Linked DNA regions of Homo sapiens: all the other regions are linked to region 1. Evidence: promoter capture Hi-C in 16 types of primary human blood cells and fetal thymus (Javierre and others, 2016). All regions are on one chromosome and are shown on one strand. Each heading gives the region's core, a stretch centred on a gene start or on the middle of the fragment in contact. The rest is flanking DNA. Distances are from core to core; before and after follow the strand shown. Region 1 holds the start of ZBED2 (zinc finger BED-type containing 2). Region 2 overlaps PHLDB2 (pleckstrin homology like domain family B member 2). Region 3 overlaps PHLDB2 (pleckstrin homology like domain family B member 2).

Evidence for each region. The method cuts DNA at HindIII sites, captures the fragments that hold promoters and counts their contacts. A CHiCAGO score of 5 or more calls a contact.
Region 2: a contact is called between a fragment that was not itself captured here and the fragment with the promoter of ZBED2 in region 1, in 1 of 17 cell types (neutrophils). The highest score is 7.1, in neutrophils.
Region 3: a contact is called between a fragment that was not itself captured here and the fragment with the promoter of ZBED2 in region 1, in 1 of 17 cell types (neutrophils). The highest score is 5.3, in neutrophils.

Annotation. Positions count from the first base shown.
Region 1 is chr3:111,592,882-111,597,869 of GRCh38, reverse strand. It overlaps ZBED2 (zinc finger BED-type containing 2), which reads left to right and starts at 2,524. Exons shown (of 2, transcript NM_024508.5): 1 at 2,524-2,570; 2 at 2,804-4,970. The coding sequence starts at 3,669. The coding sequence ends at 4,325. All of the region lies in intron 5 of CD96 (CD96 molecule), which reads right to left. The HindIII fragment of the contact is 5,050 bases long and covers 1-3,619 here.
Region 2 is chr3:111,954,927-111,959,914 of GRCh38, reverse strand. The region is part of intron 12 of PHLDB2 (pleckstrin homology like domain family B member 2); the gene reads right to left. Among named protein-coding and RNA genes, the nearest start is that of ABHD10, 22 kb to the left of the region's middle. RefSeq lists a silencer at 2,139-2,433. The HindIII fragment of the contact is 3,232 bases long and covers 900-4,131 here.
Region 3 is chr3:111,921,086-111,926,073 of GRCh38, reverse strand. The region is part of intron 5 of PHLDB2 (pleckstrin homology like domain family B member 2); the gene reads right to left. Among named protein-coding and RNA genes, the nearest start is that of ABHD10, 55 kb to the left of the region's middle. The HindIII fragment of the contact is 4,210 bases long and covers 579-4,788 here.

The DNA of each region.
Region 1 (4,988 bases), core at 1,275-3,774:
GTTCCAAGTCTGGATTCTGGGTTCTGTAAAGGAGAAATCTTAACTCTGTGTAGGCAGAATAAAATAATACTAAATGGAAACCAAAGAATAGAAGGAAGAAGCTATAGCAAACAGAGGCCAGAGAAGAATAGTCTGTTAGATTAAAAGCTCAAGGGGATCTACAAGCTGTTTCTGTGCTCCAAATAATGTACGACACTATTTGTAACAATCACAGAAAACGATTTATATAAATATCCTACTTTTTACTTGTGAAGCATTTTCCTAATTTTTAAAAACAATTCATTGGCTTAATCTTAAGGATAGGTAGAGCATGCCTTATTTTTGCCATTTGACCAATGGAAAAATCAAGGCACCCAGTGGTTCGAGGAAGTGGAAAATAGTTAATGGCACAATTAGAAACCATGTCTCCTTAATCTCAGTCCAACATATTTTTTAATAAAAATTGTATTGAAATAAAAAAATGAAAGAAGTAACTATATTATGAAAGCAGAGAACTTAGATGCAGGGCTAGTTATGTTTTATTTTCAATGCTATGTTTGTTCTTTGGGGGATGATACTTTCTTTTACAGTCTGGTGAAAATATCCAGTGAGAATTATTGGATTCCCATTGTTTTATCTGAGACTCTTCAAAATTATAATTCCTTTTATAATTACTTGTTTTCTCATCAAGAGATGTATATATTTTACATATGACCAGCCCTAGTTCTTAGTTCTCAGATATTTTCCACAATTAATGAATATACTAGTTAACATGTAAAGAACAATTAAATGTATGTGATGATTTGTGTGCCAATCCTCAGACTAGTTACTCCCAAGAAGTCTGGGCCTATAGAGCTGAGAAACCAAATTCGAGAATGCTAACTAACATTTTCCTGGTGAAATCCTACAGAAGTTTACTATTTCTCAGTACATTGCTACAGAAATCCCAATGAAACAAGAGAATTTCAGAGGGGGTTGTCTAGCATATCCAAGATGCTGGGTGGCAAACACCGTAGCTCCCAGTATTCCCATCCGTTCAACACTTGCCTTTCCAGATAATGGGGATACATATATGGGCCAGGGATGCTAGTCTCTCCACTAAAAAATTAAAAGCAAAACCAGATCCTCTAAAATACATTCTTATTAAGTAAAGGAGAGTGTTCAGTTTAATTCAATAGATGCCAAAGATTGATTTTTATCTCCAGTTGGTCCAGGAAGAGACAAAAAGGTAAAGGAGGTAAAATGTTTTTTTAAAAAAAGAAAAAGATACAAAGTTTTGCATTAATCCAGTGACATTAACCATTCTTATGATTCATTTCCTTTCTCTTTAGTTAACCCACCAAAGATGACGATATGGTAATATCAGGAGTAAGTGGGGGTGTTATTATTTTACGAAGGCAACTGGCTCACTGAAGAACTCTGGTTAACGTCTAAAAATTTTGAAAAGATTTGACTTTCATGAATTCTCTAGGTTCAGATTTTCTGAAATGATCCAAATTTCAAACATTCTAGACTCTCTCTAGACTTTGCGTTCCAAGATTTGGTTTAGAAATGTGGTTCATGTTCTAAAACTCCTCCCAGTCTCATTCCTATTTTGAATCTTTTTCCCCCATCTTTTTTTTCTATTTTAATTTAACTGTCAACCTCTACATATTTTCTGCTATGCCATTTCTTTTTCTTTTCTTTCTTTTTTTATTTTTATTTATTCATTTTATTTATTTATTTTTTTGAGACAGAGTCTCCCTCTGTCGCCCAGGCTGGAGTGCAGTGGCATGATCTTGGCTTACTGCAACCTCCACCTCCCGGGTTCAAGCAATTCTCTTGCTTCAGCCTCCCAAGTAGCTGGGATTACAGGCGTGCACCACCACACCTGGCTAATTTTTGCATTTTTAGTAGAGACAGGGTTTCACAATGTTGGCCAAGCTGGCCACGATCTCCTGACCTCAAGTGATCCACCTGCCTCGGCCTCCCAAAGTGCTGGGACTACAGGCAAGATCCATGGCTCCTGGCCTGCAATGCCATTTCTATCTTTCCTTTTATAACACAAAGTTTTTTCTTCTTCTATTGATACCTTCTTTAGAGTCTTCCTATCTCCTCTTGGTAGGTTTTCCTTCTCAATCTAAATATGTATACACACACATATATATATTATGCATATTATATATAATGTATGTATATATATAATATATATGTGTGTATACATTTAATATTTCAGCCTTTCCCACTCTTCCTCCTTCAAATCGCTTGCTTTACTTGAGAGGTTAGGTAATCTAGTCATCAAAAAAGAGAACTAAGACTTGTAGGTGCTTGACTTACTGTTTTGCTGCATGACATATGCCAGGAACATCCTTTTCTTGGTGGTGGAGGGGGTGGAGAAAAGGTTTGCATCTGTGTCTAAGTGTTGCAGAAAAACCCAACAGGCACAGACACACCTACCTGGAAACAATGCTTCCCTAGAAGTGGGAGGAAACCAGAACTGGAGGTGCCCTCCTTCTGGGGGTAGGAGTCAGCTAATAGACATCCAAGGTGTGCAGGAGTGCTTTCACTCTGCGCAGGAAAGATCAGAGAGAAGTCCAGAGCCTTGCCTGCTTGTAAGTACCCACTTGTGGCTGGGGGGAATTTCCTAACTGTTCACGGTTGCAGAGCTTGATTAAATAAAGCTCTCATTAGTTTAAGAAATGACCCAAGAAAGGAGAGAGAAGTCGGGCTGTTTTTAAATGTAATATGATTTTCCATTTACTTATTTATCTTTAAAATGAGGTAAAGAGCAAAACATCTGGAGTAAGTTGCCTCAGGAAGGTCTTATTGGCTGTTGGCTTTGCAGGTGATCCTGGTGGAGAAGGTGGAGTATGGTGAGCTGCTTGCTAAGGACAGCCAGGCAACGCTGTGTTTGTGAAGATGTGCTCCACCTTCTCCTCTGTGCATCCCAGCTCCTCCTGCTGAAACAGCTGAGCTTGCTTTTTGGATTTCTTAGACTCCTGGCCTCTGAGAGACACCTCTAAGGACAAACTGACCTTGCATTGGGAACTTTATTATCCAGATCCTCATAGGCTTTGTCTACTCTGGATTGCTTGTTGCAACAGTTCTTAGGAAGCAAGATTGTCTCCTGCACCAGCATCTGCCTGTGTTTGCTTTTACCTACTTTGAGCAAGACCCAGTGAGGCCCTAGCTCTGTTGGTCCTGAAAAGCCTGAACCCTGAGGCTGTTTCTCCTGCCTCCAAAATGCAATTATAGGAAATAAGAAGCACAGAAACAGTGGAAACAACCAGGAGGAGAAACAAGAAAACCTAAAATTTTCAATATTCAAAAATACCTGTCGTGGTGGTTGATGCAGAAAACACTGAGTTCATCAAAGAGCTTTGTAATTGTTGGACCAGAGAACCCCTTTGCTACAGGAACTGATATGTTTTGTCTTTCTGGCCTAGTCAAGGGAGGATAAGTAAGTATCTGGGGCATGGAAGGAATGCACTCTTGGGCTGTTTTGCTTGTATCTGACTCACCCCTGACTCTCCAGTGAAGCAGAAAGGAAGAAACCTCACACCACCCAGGTGTGGCCAGACTTTGGCCATTATTGTGAATCCCCAAGAGTTACCACAGGCCCTTCCCAAATATATATTTAATCTTGTGGTTCAAATAAGCTTTTGGCTCACATCTAAGCACATCATAAAGAACGCTGTAGAAGAGGTGACATGATGAGGCGGGAAGACGAGGAAGAGGAGGGAACAATGATGAAGGCAAAAGGGGACTTAGAGATGAAGGAGGAGGAAGAGATTAGTGAGACAGGAGAACTGGTTGGCCCTTTTGTGAGTGCTATGCCCACTCCAATGCCCCACAACAAGGGCACCCGGTTCTCTGAGGCATGGGAATATTTCCACCTAGCTCCTGCTCGTGCTGGGCACCATCCCAACCAGTATGCCACCTGCCGCCTGTGTGGCAGGCAGGTGAGCCGTGGCCCTGGGGTCAACGTGGGCACCACTGCACTGTGGAAGCATCTGAAAAGCATGCACAGAGAGGAGCTGGAGAAGAGTGGCCATGGTCAGGCTGGGCAGCGCCAGGATCCAAGGCCCCACGGGCCCCAGCTCCCCACAGGCATTGAGGGTAACTGGGGTAGGCTCCTGGAGCAGGTGGGCACCATGGCTTTGTGGGCCAGCCAAAGGGAAAAGGAGGTGCTTAGGAGGGAAAGGGCAGTGGAATGGCGGGAGAGGGCTGTGGAAAAAAGGGAGCGAGCCCTGGAGGAGGTGGAAAGGGCCATCCTGGAGATGAAGTGGAAGGTGAGGGCTGAGAAGGAGGCATGCCAGCGGGAGAAAGAGCTGCCTGCAGCAGTACATCCCTTCCATTTTGTTTAAATTGGGCTTGGAGAATCTATTCTGAAAACATTGACTCTAGACTTGTAGAAAAGAGCCATTTTAGTTTCAACTCAAATGTAAAGCAAAGTAGTTTGGTGACATTTTGCTTTTATGTGAAATAGTGCACAGTATGAGTTAATCTGAGCAGGTCTGAATTGACCAAATGCTTATCTACGAGGTTCCTAGAGCTCTGCTGACCCTTGGCCGAAACTCTAAAATGTACCTATTAAAGATAAATGCTTCTACCAAAGTAAAACTCTGTGAGTTGTTTCAGGGCAGAATGTACCAGCCAGTCAGCGTTGTTTAACAAAATAATCAGATTTTTGCCTAGCACTCGGTTTTGGTGGAGCTGACGATTTTGAGGGCTGAGGCTGGTTAGGTAGCTGGAATGTGCCTATGTGACCAGCTCACTTGCAGACACCCTGCCGGAAGCAGAGCTTAATCTTCCTAGGACTGAGGTCTTAGCACATGTACTGGTGGAGTTTCCAGACCACCAGTATGAATAAAAGCTTGTTCTGTGTGACCCAGCAAGTGGAAGGACAAAGAACTGTGAGCCTCAGATCTTTGGACCTTTCCAATGCGTCTCTTTCTCCTGTTATTGCTGCAATGTATTTTCTTGCTTATATTAAAGTTGTTTCATCAGTATAATCTGAGTCCGGTGTG
Region 2 (4,988 bases), core at 1,266-3,765, 360 kb before region 1:
TGAGTGACATTGCCACAACCTCTTCCTCTCCCTGAGTTTTCACATTGAGGAAAAACCAACCCATATGAAGCAATTACCACCATCTTGGAAAAGCAGGAAAGAAGGTGAGCATGTTTCTTAAGGGAACTGTATGTCTTGCTCCTCAGATCTTCCAAGGTTGTGTTTTTTGTTGTTGTTGTTTTTCGGCTACTTTTCCAAAAGTAACACAGAATAACAAAATAGAACTTACAGGTGAAGGAGATAGTAAACTAAAATGACTCAGATGTTTCAGGTGAATGTAGAAGGGCCAGCTACATTACAATTTGTACTGTGCTAAGGGTTGTGAATATTAATTCCCCAGACCAACTCACAAGTTGTTGAGGTTTGACTCTACGACTGAATCTCCCAGTCATTCTGGTGGTAGGATAAGCATTTTACATTTTCATGGCAACTTAAACGAAAAAGCATGAGGCCAATAATAAGCATCTTTTTCCCAACCCATGATTTTTATTTCCCATGAATCCAAAGTGAGTGGAAAAGTTCACCTCATGGAGCTACTCATTTCTGCCTACTGGCAACACTTTACTGACCTCAGTGAACCCCACTGTCACCTGGCCTAGCTTCCTCCCTGCTGAACAAATCCCCCAAAAACAGGTAACCCCTGCAATTATCAATACGGGCATGGGCCCCTCTCCTGTGATCCTGCAATTGAACCAGTGTGATTCCAAAGAGCTCATTTTGGGATTCAGGCTCTGGCCTGGCCATCCAAAGGCATAGATATTTTAAACAGAGGAAACGTCATAGAAGATCAGGGGACGGGGCTGGGTAACCTGGTAGGAGGCCCAAGGAGAGATGCTGGTGCAGTGAAGGAACACTAGAATGGCAGTAAACTGGCCTAGGCCTCCACTCTCATTGAAGCTTTATCAGGAAAGGGGATGCAGATGTCCTGTGCACCACAGTTTACCTCCATTTATTTGGCATGTGGATGTCATAAGATAAACAGTCACTGAATGAATTTATCTTTTCATCTATATATTCTATATAAATAGTCAAATAAGGAAGTGGAATGCATCTACTTTTTGAGGGGGAGCAAAGAAACAAGATTGGGAAAAATGAGACTTTCCCAACCCCTGAGACTATTTGGTTTCTGTTTTTTAATTATGTAGCAAGAATAACATTAATCAGTGGGAAAGCAACTAAAACAGTAAAAAGGGCCTTGAAAATGCTCTAAATCCTTCCTATCCAGAGAGAAATAGCTGTTTGAAGGGGTAGTTTATAAGGTGTATAAAGCAAGACCTAATTGAGGCTTGTTTCTAATCATAGCCACACAAGGAACCCAAACCAGTTCAGCTCTTCACTGCCTGGGACAGCCAAGGGACCAAATGTGCAAGGCCCATTTATTATTATTATTTTTAATGCCAGTCTCTATTAATTCTGGCTAATTGGACCTGAAAAGTCTCTTGTGAGTTAACGATTACACAATGTGTAGAGTCCTGCCAATACATTCCCAATATGTGGTATATACTTTTACATGGCTATCTGGGCTGTAATATAGAAAGTAAGATGACTTAAAGTATAACCTGGGGTTAAGAGGATAAAATTAACCAGTATTTCTAACAATTCAGCCTGTCATAGCTCACCTGCTGAGGAATTCATTCTTCCTAATGACAGTCCACAGCCAGAAGAAGAGGGCACAGGACAAGTCAGGAATGAAGAGGGAGAATGATTGTAGAAAGGGAAAAAGATACAAGATCAAAAAGGATGACAAGGGGGCAGGAAAAACATACAACACTTCCAACATGCACTCATTGATGGTGTTAGTTACAATAGCAAATTAACAAGGTATGATGTTCACAGTTTCAGATTAAATCCAAGTTTACAGAGAAAAACTCAAGAAACCTTAAAAAAAATTGATACATGCATAGTCAAAAAAGACTGTTACAAGACAAATAAATCTTTCACACATATTCATCAACCAGAAAATAGGAAGAATAAAAACAGATTATATCTATCAAACAATTCTTTTTCCAAACAGACAATAGCAAATAGTTTTTAAGAGCTCAAGTTTGTAAAATGCCATTCAATTATTTGAAGCACAGTTCATCAAGTTTTATAACACATCGTCTAACATCCTACATCTCTACCACCTAGCCACAGGAAATAACCATCTTACTTATTCAAGCCAATCATTTAAACTATACTTCACTCTCCACTAAGTCTTTCTTAGAAAACAGGCTCCAATGAAATGAATAAGTAGGAGCTTCCTAAATCCTTTCATCCTTTGACTGTAGCCTGACTTATTTATACCTGTCCTTTTTAAAGGAGAATCATGGTTTACACTTAGCTCATATACATCACAATACCCTCTATTCTCTTTATATAGATCCTGAATCTTACAAAACAATGCTTCCACAGCACTCATGTTTCCTGCAGGGTCTGACCTTGCGATTAAAAGCCAAAACAAAGAGGGTCATGCAGCTGCCAGTGAATGAACAGCAGCTGCACCCAGCATTGTGTTTCTTGCAAATGTGCAACAATTTTTCTCTATTGTGTAAAAGAAATAATCATTAGACTAAAAATCCACCACTGCACAGTGTTAAATCTGATCATTTCTTAAACATGACTTGACAATGACCTTTCAATATTTGCTGGAAACAAAAACACCACACAAGGAGGTTGTCATACCTTTCTTGGACTTTCCTGTATTTAACAAAAAACAAAAGGACAAAGATTTCATTCATTCTAAAGCTGACAAAGGAATAGTTCACAAGTTGTTCAAAAGCCAATAACCATTCCAACTTCAGAAGCTGAGTTTCTCAGCTCTCTGTTTTAAACTCTCCTCTCAAAGTTCTTTGCACGACTCACGCTGTCAGTTCTATTAACAGTGCTGATTAAGGCTTATACTTACACCATCATCCTTGATGTATCCATTACGAATAGCAGCAAAAAAAGGTGTATTTAAGTTAATTGTGTAAGTTTAAAAGATGATTAAAGTCTACTAAATGTGAGTTAGTGAAAATATGCCAGGTATAATTTTTTTCAAATCCATAGAATTTTACTTGTATTTGCTATTTTAATAAAGTTAACAAGTGCTAGTCAAACAATTCTAAATGAAATTATGATCCATCCCTCCTGGGTTTTTTGTGAACCACCAGTTTGGGCTGTGTAGAAAATCCTGCCAGTTTTACAGTCTGCTGGGGTTCTAAGAACTATAGACCCTGACTTCTCCTCCTCTGGGTAGGGGAGCCAAAGGCAGCAGGCTGTCTTTTCAGAACACATCTCCTTGGACCAACACGCATATAATGGTTCTTTATTTCCTCAGAAGCTGCCCCATCAGAATTACATGAAACTCTTCAAGAGGAAGAGCACTTCACAGTTACAGCAGAGAAAGACTGAAGTTGCAGTCTTCTGAGCTGCATAAAGGACGTATCAATAAAGAACAAGAGCACTAAAGATAAATCAAAGACAGATTTGATTTTGCAACGGGAACATCAGTAATGTGGCCTAAGGGAATTAGCTCAGTTTTCCTCTATGAAACTGGCATGGGATTCCCATTACTTCAGGGGAAAACAGATTAGAATAACTGAGATCAAACCTTCCCTCGGTTTCACCATATTCTCACAAAATCCTCTTAAATGGTAATGTTAATGGCTCTTGAGTTTTGCTAATCTATTTATTTACTATAAAGTTCTAGTTTTTCTTACTCTTTGAGAAAATACTTTTATTTATTAATTTATTTTTTGAGACAGGGTCTTGCTCTGTTGCCTAGGCTGTAGTGTAGTGGCATGATGGCAGCTCACTACAGCCTTGACTCCCAGGCTCAAGCGATCCTCCTACCTCAGCCTCCTGAGTGGTGGGGACCACAGGTGCATGCCACCATGCCTGGCTAATTTTTAAATTACTTGTAGAGATGGGATCTCACTATGTTGCCCAGGCTGGTCTCAAATTCTTAAGCAATCTTCCCTCCTCAGCCTCCCAAGGTGCTGAGAGTAGAGGCATGAGCCACCACACCTGGCAAGAAAATGCTTTTAACATGGAGTATAGTAATTTGTGATCCCACCCTCTTTCCCAAATGCTTGCTCTTTCAATTAAACACCTGAAGTACATGAAAATGCTTAATGGTCTTTGTTGGTGTTGTGGCCAATCTAAGCTTTGATGTCTTCCGACGGTGGGAAAAATATATTTAAAAAGAAGTCTAATACATGCCTGTAATCCCAGCACTTTGGGAGGCCAAGGTGGGAGATCACTGGAGCCCAGGAGGTCGAGACCATCCTGGGAAACATGACAAAAACCCATCTCTGCCAAAAAATACAAAAATCAGCCAGGTGTGGTAGCACACACCTATAGTTCCAGCTTACTCGAGAGGCTGAGGTGGGAGGATCACTTGAACCCAGGTGGCAGAGTTTGCAGTGAGCTATAATCACACACCACTGCATTCCAGCCTGGACAACAGAGTGAGACCTTGTCTCAAATATTTATATGTAAATATTACAGAAAAATGTTTCAACAGCAAATAGACTTGACCCACAACTTAACAGTGATAAATGAGAGCCAAAATAGATGGATTTATGTTTATTATTTATAAACATCAAAAGAATATGTTTAGCTTATTAAGAAATTATGGCAAAGAAAATAAAATAGTTCAATCAGTTTATTTGATTCAAATATTACCACTGCAAATGTCTCTTACACATTATAAACCTATTATGAATACTATACCCTCTAATTTTTAAATCGCCTTTAGTAATGATTTGAAAACCTCGTTCCAGTGAGAGATATATATATATATATCATATATACATACACAATACACATTATGTGCACATATATATAAATTTATGTATGTATATGTAGCATATATGTATTACATATATGTGCGTGTGTGTGTGTGTGTATATATATATTTTCCCCTGATGGAAAACCAGTGTTATCTCTCAGTACCATTGGCAGAGAGGCCAAAGAGCTAGAATCGAATTCCAGCCTGCTTAGAGGGGAGGATTTGAATCCCA
Region 3 (4,988 bases), core at 1,434-3,933, 330 kb before region 1:
TCTGTGTGAAGACACACAATATTTGTCCTTAAACAAAAGGATAGTTTGAGATATATGTTTATCATCTGGGTCATGGGAAGACCCCTCAGCACGTCTACTGAATCAGAAGCTTTTCTTAACCATTTTATTTAATTTTGGTACAACTGACTTGATTTTTGTGCGCTAAAAAGAAGCACAGATAAAACAGATAATCCATAAATAGAAGAAATTGAAAAATATTTTTAGTTTCAAATTTTTAACACAGCTAGAAATAGAGACAGAAAACCTACGCAAACAGATGCACACATCCGTATCTTCTTAGCCATTGCCTGAGATCAGGCTCTGCCTTGGAATGGGGATGGGGAGTAGAAGGGAAGGAAGCCAGTTCCACAGTCAGGCCTTTGCCCAAGCTGGGCTTCATGGTGCTAGCGGTTTCCCTACTCTGTCACCAGGCCCATTAAATGAAAACAGTTTGCTAGACCAGAGGTCCCAATCTTCTTTCACTTGCTATAAGAAAATGTGATGGTCTCTTTGCTTACTGCTTCACCAAGTAAATATACCCTCCAGATTTATGTCTGAGTTAGATCCTTGTTTAAGCTTTATCAATGTTCATAGTGGCTCCATCTGTGATGTGGCTACTATCCGAGAACACAACCGGCAGGTGGCATGTATCTCAAGGTCAGATGGAAACAGGGTTATTGATGTTCGTAACAGTGGTACCCCTAAGGGTAATAAAAGGCCAGTGCAGGAAACTGCTGCAAAAATGTTCAATAAATACACAGTAGAACAAACTGACTATATTTTATGTTTTCTATAGAAGTATGCCTATGGTTTATATTTTATAGGGTAACGAATGTGCAAAATAAAATGCATTCCTAAATCAGCTAAAAGAAGTAACACTAAAGACCAATCTTCAGAGCCAAAAAAATAACATCAGTAATTTCATATCAAGATTTGAATGCTGATGTCTGGGCTTGGTGGCTCACACCTGTAATCCCAGCACTTTGGGAGGCCAAGGCAGGCAGATCACCTGAGGTCAGGCATTCGAGACCAGCCTGGACAACATGACGAAACTCCGTCTCTATTAAAAATGTAAAAATTAGCTGAGTGTCATGGTGGGAGTCTGTAATCCCAACTACTCGGGAGGCTGAGGCAGGAGAATCACTTGAACCTGGGAAGAGGAGGTTGCACTGAGCCAATGTTAAGCCACTGCACTCCAGCCTGGGCAACAGAGAGAGACTCTGTCCCAAAAAAATAAAAAACAAAAGATTTGAATGGGGAGGCATTCTGAGGTATTATTAAACCTTTTTCCTATGGCTCCGGCCTTGTCTCCAAAATTCTAGAGCCAGGCTTACAGGATGTACTATTAACATCTGAATCGGAGCTTGCCCAACAGAGATATCTTTTCAGGTTTTGCTTTTCTCATTCCATGGTTTATATCTGACCACAGCAACAGGTGTATGGAAAAGGAAACACGATCCCTAAGGGGAAAGGCCACTTCCTCCTTCTGTCTTACGCTTTGGCATGATGGGCCGTGTGACTACAGGCCTCCTGGCATATGCACACGGGCAGCCCAGCCCAGCTGTCCTGAAACTTGGCTGCACTCTTTGGCAGGTGTTTGGCTCAGTGTTTTGCTAAGGCCCAGCCTGGACCAGCCATTAGCAGGAAAATCCAACAACAATATTCGTAAGCACACTGGGCAGTATCCTGCCTGGCACATGCTACGGGCTGGATAAACAGTGGATCACAGTGCCCTAGTGCCCTCCTCTATTTCACAGGCTAGAGTGGGATATAAATGTCTAGTAGGCTCAAAACAAACATAAATTATAAAATGTTTATCTGTAAAAAGAACAACAGGGAAAATCTAACCCGAACTGGAAAGGTCTAGGAGGGCTTTTCTGAAAAACTAACACTGATCTTGAGCCCTGAAAGACAGAACCAATGAGGCATGGAATATGAGGAAGGGAATTCCAGGTAGGGGAAAACAGTATCTGCAAAGGACTGGGGTTGGGGGAGGATGAATCTTTTAACAAACAGAAAGATAGAAAGGAAGGTGACTCTGAGAGTGCTGTGAAGAATGGGAGGGTGGTGACAGAAAGGCTGGTGACAGATCACACTACGGAATTTGGATGCATAGTCAAGTACAGTGTGATGCAAACCACAGTAATATGGTCTAATTTCTTCTTTTTAATCACATTGGCTGCTGTGAAGAGAATGGATTGAAGGAAAGCAAGTGGAAGTAGACTAAATAAGAGATTTTCATAATAGAGAAGAGAATGCTGTTAGTGGAGATGCAGAGATGTTGAAGCAATCAAGAAACAAGCTGGTAATCAACTGAATGTAGGGATGATAAGGAAAGACGTGTCAAGATCAATTTCCAGGTTTCTGTTGAACATATAGGTGAATAGAGATGCAATCTCCTGGTTGGAAAAACTAGAGGATGGAGGGTGGAGGGTGGAAGGCAAGGGAAAAGATAAGATCAAGAGTTCAGTTATGGGTGTGTTCAATTGGAAATACCCATGAAATATCCAAGTGGGGATGTCAGGTAGGCACAGGATATGAGTCAGAATTCCAAAAAGGGTTATGAACTAGAGAAATCCCTATGATAGTCACCAGCATATACAAGTTATTTGAAGCCATAGCTATAGAAGGACATGAGGGTACAAGAGAACTGAGTTCAGATGAGAGATAAAGAGTGAGAAAGAGGTAAGAGAAATAGATGGAAAACCAGAAGATTGTGGTACACAGAGGCAAACAAAAGGGAGACAGTGAAGAAGCACCAAGAAAAGAGCTGTCCCCTGTACTGAATGCTGCTCGGGAGTCTGATCATGAGGGGACTGAAAAGCACCCAGCAGGCTGGGCACCACTGAGGTCTTTAGTAGTCTTAACAGGAGAGAATCTGATGGAGGAGTAGAGGTCTAAGCCAACTGGAGTGGGAAGAATGTTTAATTGGAAAATGAAGAAAAGGAGACACAGTATACCCAGAAAATTGTTTAATAAGTTTAGCTATGATGAAGAGAAGAGAGATAAGGTAGTAGCTTATCGTTAATCGATAAAGTAGTAATTTATTTTAAAAATAATAATATTGGCATGCTGACAGTAAAGAGAGAGAAACTGACCCCAGGGGGTGAGGGTGCAGAAAGACTGAAGACCTCAAGAAGGTGGGATAGGATGACACCCAGAGCACATCCAAAGGGAGTGGTCTTTGATGGAAGGAGGGAACCCCGCCTTCATTGTGAGAAGATGGGATGCTTCTAATTTCTCTATGGTAAGATGATCTCTGAGCCAGAGGGATGAAAGTTGGCCAGGAGTATGAACAGAGTGTATGAAATAGCTGTGTCATTAAATGGTGGAATAAATTTATTTGAGAAACATAATAATGTTTTTGCCAAGCTGTGTTGAGTCTCTATTTGAGTTTAGTTGTCAAGAATACGTAGTAACATCATCTAGACCAGTCTTTGTTTCCACTTCCCACATCCTCTTCTGGAGTTCCTCACCCCAAGCCAGTTTCTGCCATTTTTCACATGATGTAATGACAGAGAATAATCCTACCTTCTAAGACCAACTAATTCCCTCATAGCTGTATGAGCTGGTCCTATGCGTCAAGCCCCTGTAGTCCCCTCTCCAGTGCATAGCCTCTGTCAAGCCATCAAAACAATATTAGGAAGGATGGAGGTAGCTTCCTTGCTTGTTTCTGCCCGTGTTCCTAGAATTCCACCTGAGAATTCCACCTTGAAAACATAAGATAACTTTCCCTGGGAAGTGAGATTTAACATTGGCTCAACTTGCTTCACTTTTGTGTAGAATCTGATATTAATGAGAAATACACAAATAGAATTTGCAGGCCATGCCATATGTGAGATACACAAAATAAATAACTACATGGATTAGGATGGCAGGAGGGTTCACAGGGAACATGATACCTAATTCCTATGTTGCACGAGTTTTCCAATATGATATACATAGCAATAAAACTACTCTACTATTACTTAATTTAATTAATATTTACTTGATAATAAAATATTAACACAAGACATCTGATGCCTCCAATGAAGGCTTCTTGCAGAATCTTTGAAAAGCATAGCCATTAACTGAATCCTTCAGTACTGCAGACTTAGACAGTCAACTCTTTGACTTCATTTTGGCCTTTTAGGAAAAATACACCCACTACCCAAATACTACTTAAAAGTTTGGGCCGGGCGCGGCGGCTCACGCCTGTAATCCCAGCACTTTGGGAGGCTGAGGTGGGCGGATCACGAGGTCAGGAGATCGAGACCATCCTGGCTAACATGGTGAAACCCCGTCTCTACTGAAAATACAAAAAATTAGCCGGGTGTGGTGGCGGGTGCCTGTAGTCCCAGCTACTTGGGAGGCTGAGGCAGGAGAATGGCTGAACCTGCGAGGCGGAGCTTGCAGTGAGCTGAGATTGCGCCACTGCACTCCAGCCTGGGCGACAGAGTGAGACTCCGTTTCAAAAAAAAAAAAAAAAAGTCTGGGGGCAGAATGAACGTACATAAAATTTAATATGAAAAGCCTGTGCAGTTTAATTCTGACATGCTGGTAACCAAGAAATTGATGTGTAGCATTTAATTTGACTTTATTTCTGACTACCATTTTGAGCTCATTCTCTGGCACCAAGATCAAATGCCCTTATTTATAGGTCTTAAACAAATAAGAGCCTAAAAAGGAAGTCACGTTCAGCAGAAATTCTTTCTACACATTACCACTAGAACTTACTCAAACTAAAAATTTTTTCTTTTTCTCAGCTTAGTGGAGAACATGTTGAGTAAGGAAGAATGTGTTAAAGCTTATTTGCTTTTTCTTTCTCAAATTGGAATTTTATTTTCAGTTTTATTGGAATTTTATTTTTAGTTCTGCTCTAACTAACTCAGAATGGGAGAGGAGAGTAATGTATATTTCCCAGAGGAAAAAAACACATAAACAGACAAACCCAACTACCATCCTGAATTCTAAAATTTGCAAGTGATTTTTCATACTTTCCCTAATAG